Regions from separate parts of the Homo sapiens genome. Here region 2 is linked to region 1. The links are contacts of gene promoters, found by promoter capture Hi-C in blood cells and fetal thymus (Javierre and others, 2016). All regions are on one chromosome and are shown on one strand. Each heading gives the region's core, a stretch centred on a gene start or on the middle of the fragment in contact. The rest is flanking DNA. Distances are from core to core; before and after follow the strand shown. Region 1 has its middle 4.1 kb from the start of NFIA. Region 2 holds the start of OMA1 (OMA1 zinc metallopeptidase).

Region 1 (2,700 bases), core at 201-2,700:
AGAGTTCACAAAGATACTAAGGCACTTGAGAGAGAGCAGGGATGGAGGAGGAGGGAAGAAAGAAAGGATAGTAGAGAGAGCAGTGGAGGAAACGCAGGTGAAGTATGGAAACTAGTTCACTGCAATCATATAAATGACCCATTGTTAGGAAGGATAAACCCCTTATTGGAAATAACCTCTCCAATCATTTATTTTCCAAGTGGTAGGAGGCTGCCTTGAAATGGGATTGTCTCTGCGCAAAGGAGGCTCCTGTCATGCTCTCTGCTATCCATATTCTTCCTGGCACAGAGCCCAGCCTTGCATTTACTGTGTTTTATTTGCAGAAACGTTACCTTGCCAGCTTTAGTGAAATCCTCTTAGATATATAAATTACGTCAATAAGGTTTCACTTATATGTACATCTCAAATAGCTCTCATTTTGGAGGTTACTTAATAGGGAGATCTTATTAATATGATTTAGATTTTAATACCCAAAGCAGTGAAGATAGGACTGGGATTCATAAGCGACAACACCATAACTCTGTAGTTCTTACCAAAACTAACTTTATTAACTGGCATTTTTCAACATTTTTTCTTCTCTGGTTTTTGACCTGCTGGTCACTTCTGTGCAGATTTTTCTTATGTGCATATAATCCTAAATTGAATCATGTTGCTGAAGTGAGTGTCCAAGTGAATTCTTACATCAAATTTCCAAGCCAGATTTGACTGGAAGGCCTAAAGCCTTGGGAAATAGCTCGATGGGAATTTAATCCAAAGAAGGGAAAGAGCCCATATTATTTTCCATTCACTTCCCAACAGAATTGGGTGTCTACGCTGCTCAGAGAGGAGGAGATGGAGATATTTTAGTCAGAGGCTGCCAGTTACTGTCTCCAAGACAAGCTACTGCAGTTGGTTTCCACTGGATTTGTATCAAGCACTTGTCCAAGAGGCCAGACTCCAACTAACAGTTAGCAAGTCAGCGATCTTCCATACACTCTCCACGGGGGTTGTTGTGGTAACAAGGAGAAACGTGAACTTGGCCAGTCTTAACGTCCTATTTCCTACTGACCATATACTTAAAAAGCAGAATTCAAGAATAGCCAAGAAAAAACACTCCCCTAATTTCTTTCAAGTGTGTAAGACAGCTGCTAGTCCACATGTGAAACATTCTCTCCTTTAAAACTGTTGTTTAGAGTTCAAGAAGAGAGGTTTACCTATTAATTTCAAAGTACTTGAAATGCCAAAGCTTCTAAGATAATCAGAGTAAGAAGTTTTGTAATGCTGAATACGCAATATATTACTTCCCAAAGCTCACTACAGTCCCACAATTCAGGCAAGATTTAAGCCACACGTTTCTTAAAGTTGAACTTCACATTCCACAAGTTACCAGCTTCCCTGAGCATAAAAATAATAGCTAATGCAAAGTTAATAACAATACAAAGTTATTTCTCTAGCAGAATGTTTCTTTTTCCAAAAGACAAGGAAGAAGGCACACGATTCATGCAAAACTCCCCCGATCAGCTTTTTTTTTTTTCTTAAACGCGAAAATTCTTTCCTATTGTGCTTGCTAAATCCGGAAGCGCTTGTAGCTTTGACAGCTTGAACCACACCATCCCCTTCAGAGCTGCAGAGAACTTCAGATCTCCTCTGCCCCGCCCCCTCTGGCTATTGAGAACTATTGTACACCCAAGCTTCCTTATGATTGGATAAAGCTTTTGTCAATCTCCCAAGTTGTCCCATTGATTAGAGGATCAAATCGTCAATTATTCTCCGGGTCCAGACATTTCTTTTCGGGTTAGGTTGACTGCTGAGGCCAGACGTCTTTTACAGAACAGAGCACGTACAGGATTTCCCCCCACCCCTTTCTGGAACCGAGCAAGCGCTAGGAGGAAAAAAAAATCTGTCAAGCTCAGCAATTTTTTCAAATCCCGAAAAAAAAAAAAAAGAAAAAGAAAACCCGGTCTCTGATGCACATAGCAAAAACACCATCAACAAAGCTACATCTTTAAAACAAAACCATCACAATAGACATTTACCCAGCAATCACTTAAGTGCATATGCGAGCTAGAGAAATTTTAGTCTTAGCCATTAAACAAAATCATTCTACCATTGTTTATAAAACGCATATCATATAAATGCAAAATAGAAAGTTTAAGATGTACCACGTACCATTGCAATGTAAAAAGAGTACGTGAGAAACTTTAAAATGCTCAGACGAATTGCTTCATTTGTTGTCCCCTTTTTTTTGCATTTAAAAAATATCTAAATAAACTTGGAACCGTTGAAAACCCGGAAGAGATTTTTTAAAAAGCTGTTGGCCAATTGCAGGCTTCTTGGAGAATTTTTTTTTTAACTCCAAATCAGAAGGCTTTTGCAATTGCAAGGCGCGCTCTCTCCCTCTCTCACTGTCTCGCTCTCGCTCGCTCGCTCGCTCGCTCTCACTCTCTCTTTTGAAAGCGATCCAACCCGGGCTGGCTGGTTCTCAGATTCGCTCTGGTTTTGCCTTGCGTGCTTTGGATTGTACGAGACTTTGCAGAAGTTGCAATCGATTCGGCAGTCCCTCTCTCCTCTCCCAACTCCCTTGTTTATTTCCGCAATCGCTGCAATTTGCATAGTAACCACGCACGAGGTACCGGCGGCAGCCTGCGGCGGAGGGGGCAGGGAGGGGGCAGGGAAAAGGCCTTGCCCCCTTCTCCCCTCCTCCAGTCTGTCTCCCCGCCA
Region 2 (2,835 bases), core at 35-2,534, 2.5 Mb after region 1:
GGATAGTGAGATGATGGTGGAGATTAATGTCATAATTAAAGACCTGAAATATACAAGAGTGGTTGGTCATCCCTGCCATATCTCTACTTAACTTGCCAGTCTGGCCCCTTTGGAAATCAGGTGGACCCAGGATAATGACATAATGGCTCTGCGCAGTCCAAAAGGAGCTGGATCAACTGGAAATTCCAGAGAACATCACACCCATCTATTTCACCAATGACATTATGCTAACCAGGCAAGATGAGCAAGAGGTGGCTAGCATGCTGGAAACTTTGGTAAGACATGTGCACTCCAGAGTTTGGGAGATAAACCCTACGAAGACTGAAGGACCTCCTACTTCAGTTTTTAGGGGTCCAGTTGTCAGGGGTTTTCCAGGATATCCCTTTCAAAGTAAAAGGCAAATCATAAAATACACATAAGATAAACGAAACAGTAACTTACACATTTTCCAAAAGAGATACCTAAAATTGTTCATAGTGTTTATGTCCTTTGACATAGTGTTTATGTCCTTTGAGATGTTTTCATTGTGCACAGAGTGTAAACATAATAAACTAATATGAGACCTCACTACTCATCCATCACAATCCAGTGTTTATTTGTACTGGCTTATTTGTACACTTTTATTTATTTGTGTTTATTTGTACACTTTTTTTTAATCGCCTGTCTTTCCTCACTGTGATATAAAGTTCACGAAATTCAGGTCTGTCTTGTTCACTGCTACATCCTTGGCACTTAAAATGTAGTTGATGCTCAAGAAATATGTTTTGGTGAAATGAATGAAACATACTATACACATAATTTTGGAGCCAGCTACTTTAACCTCCAGACACTTAAGATTATACTTCATCTTTCTTAAAATGCGTCCCTCCAAAAATCATATGAAAGCACTGTTCCCATACTCCAAAGACTATTTCTATGAATGCAGATTCAGAACCAGGAAGCCTTCGTCTTTTGGCAGTCTTCGAGTCTCTTCCCTTTTGGCCGGTACTGCCGTAGAGACTACAACGGACACAGCCTTGCGTGGATCATTCTTTAGAGGACCCAACTCACCAAAGACGGGAGAAAGTTGTTCCTAGGCAAGCAGCCCAGCCCAGGGCCATGTCCCGCCTTAAGCCACACGGAGGCGCTAGAGCGCCACAGTCTCCGCGGGGCCCGGGGCAGCTGGGAGAACGACTCTGGGCGGCTGTATTGACTGCCGGGTGTGGGCGGAGCGAAGGGCGCCCCGGCCGGTATGGCGGGCAGGAAGTGCGGGTGCGCGCCTGCGCATAGGTCGGGTCTGCGGTGTCACCGCTTTCGCTTCTGCTTGAGTCAGTCCTCACGGTGACGCTTTTCCCCAGCTTTTCCGAGTAGGATCGTGCCCAGGGGAGGAGGCAGAGTGCGGCAGTGGGGAGGGGGCGGAGCGCAGAGCGCCTGCGGGGGCGCCCGGGCAAGGAGTGGGGATCCTTGGGGATGGGGGTACGGGAGGAGGCGTGGGTGGGCGATAAGGCTGCGTGGAGGGGAGGGGCGGGGGGCGCCGGGGCGGGAGACGGAGGGGATCTGTCCTGGGGGAGCCCGGTTCTCCCCTAGCCTTGCCCGGGGCACGCCGGTGACCCCGTGTGTCTGCCCCGTGGCAGTACTTTCGTGGGCCGCCTGCCCTCCCCCTCAGCCCGCCCTTATCCGCGGCTCCGCTTTCAGAGCAGGGTTTCTCACCCGCGGGGCTTCGGGCTCCTCACCCGGCACCTCTGCCAGAGGGGACCGCCTCCCGGCGCGTCGGGCATTCGTCTCTTTCACCCCTTCCCTCTTCAGGAGAAACTGAACACGTTTTCCAGCCTAAACTCGGCAGGGCAAACCAGAACATTCCCCGTCTAAGCAGTTCCGGGGAGTTTTAACAATTTCCTCGTAAACTCGTCTACAGAACTCACTGTATACTGTTTAAATGTCGCCTGTGTGTGGAGCAACAGTTTTATTGTGCCGTGCAATCCTCAACAAGAAATTGTAGTCCAGGGAGATGAAAATCCCTTATTTGGCATTCAGGCGTTGATCAAGGTCGTGCAACCCTCGCTAAAAGGATTTAGGTTCATCTCCGTCATTCTCAGCCGGGGTGAAGGGGTGTAGTCTGACATTTGGAAGCTTAAGAACCAAGTCTGCTGCCGTCCAATTCTTTTTTAAAGCCTTCCATCATGTGTGTACTTTGCTTGAATGATTATTTTAAAGTACATGTCCTATTTTTGCCAATCTGACAGCTGTTTCCATAGAAACTAGAGAAGAAATAGTCATTTTCAGCAAGAGTTGTTAAAACTGTCTTCCAGGCTTCAGCTGTGAGTGCCAGTGAGTGCTGCACTTGCTCATTCGGAGATGGTACTTAAAGAATTAAGGATCTGAAATGTTCGTAGAGGCTAACAATCCAAATTGTTTAATTTTCTCACATCATTAATTTTGTTATCCTAGAAGTCTGCCAGCTATGTTTGTTGACCTGCCACAGCTCTTTGAAGAGAATATGTCAGCCCTGATTTTTTTTTTTCTTATGTGCTCTGTAGTCTAGTGATTGGCTCCTTGAAAATGCATGAATAGATTTCTTCCCTCATTCTTTACCCTTTCTTCAGGATAAACCGGGTATTACAAAATATCAGGCACTGTTTCTATTCAAAACGACACTTGGTTGTCAGTGATAGAAATGATAATGGTTTTAATTATATATGCGTAGTGTTGGGGCTTTTGCTTATACCTTCTGTGTCAATAGGATTCTTTTAAAATTTTTACACAAGTCATGAGAAATGAGAAGGAGTTTGCTTGTCATGTGCAGAGCTAAGCAGTGTGAATAGATGTGCATAGACATAGAGATGAGAGCTTTCTTTT

The links. Contacts are between HindIII fragments. The CHiCAGO score rates a contact against its expected background, and 5 or more counts as called.
Region 2: a contact is called between the fragment with the promoter of OMA1 here and a fragment that was not itself captured in region 1, in 1 of 17 cell types (total B cells). The highest score is 5.3, in total B cells.

The regions. Positions count from the first base shown.
Region 1 is chr1:61,077,077-61,079,776 of GRCh38, reverse strand. It overlaps a transcript of NFIA not described here. Among named protein-coding and RNA genes, the nearest start is that of NFIA, 4.1 kb to the left of the region's middle. The HindIII fragment of the contact is 445 bases long and covers 1,228-1,672 here.
Region 2 is chr1:58,545,175-58,548,009 of GRCh38, reverse strand. OMA1 (OMA1 zinc metallopeptidase) reads left to right here and starts at 1,284. Exons shown (of 9, transcript NM_145243.5): 1 at 1,284-1,307. It also overlaps a transcript of DAB1 not described here. RefSeq lists enhancers at 846-1,035, 1,249-1,875 and silencers at 1,436-1,535, 1,546-1,635. The HindIII fragment of the contact is 5,811 bases long and covers 1-2,111 here.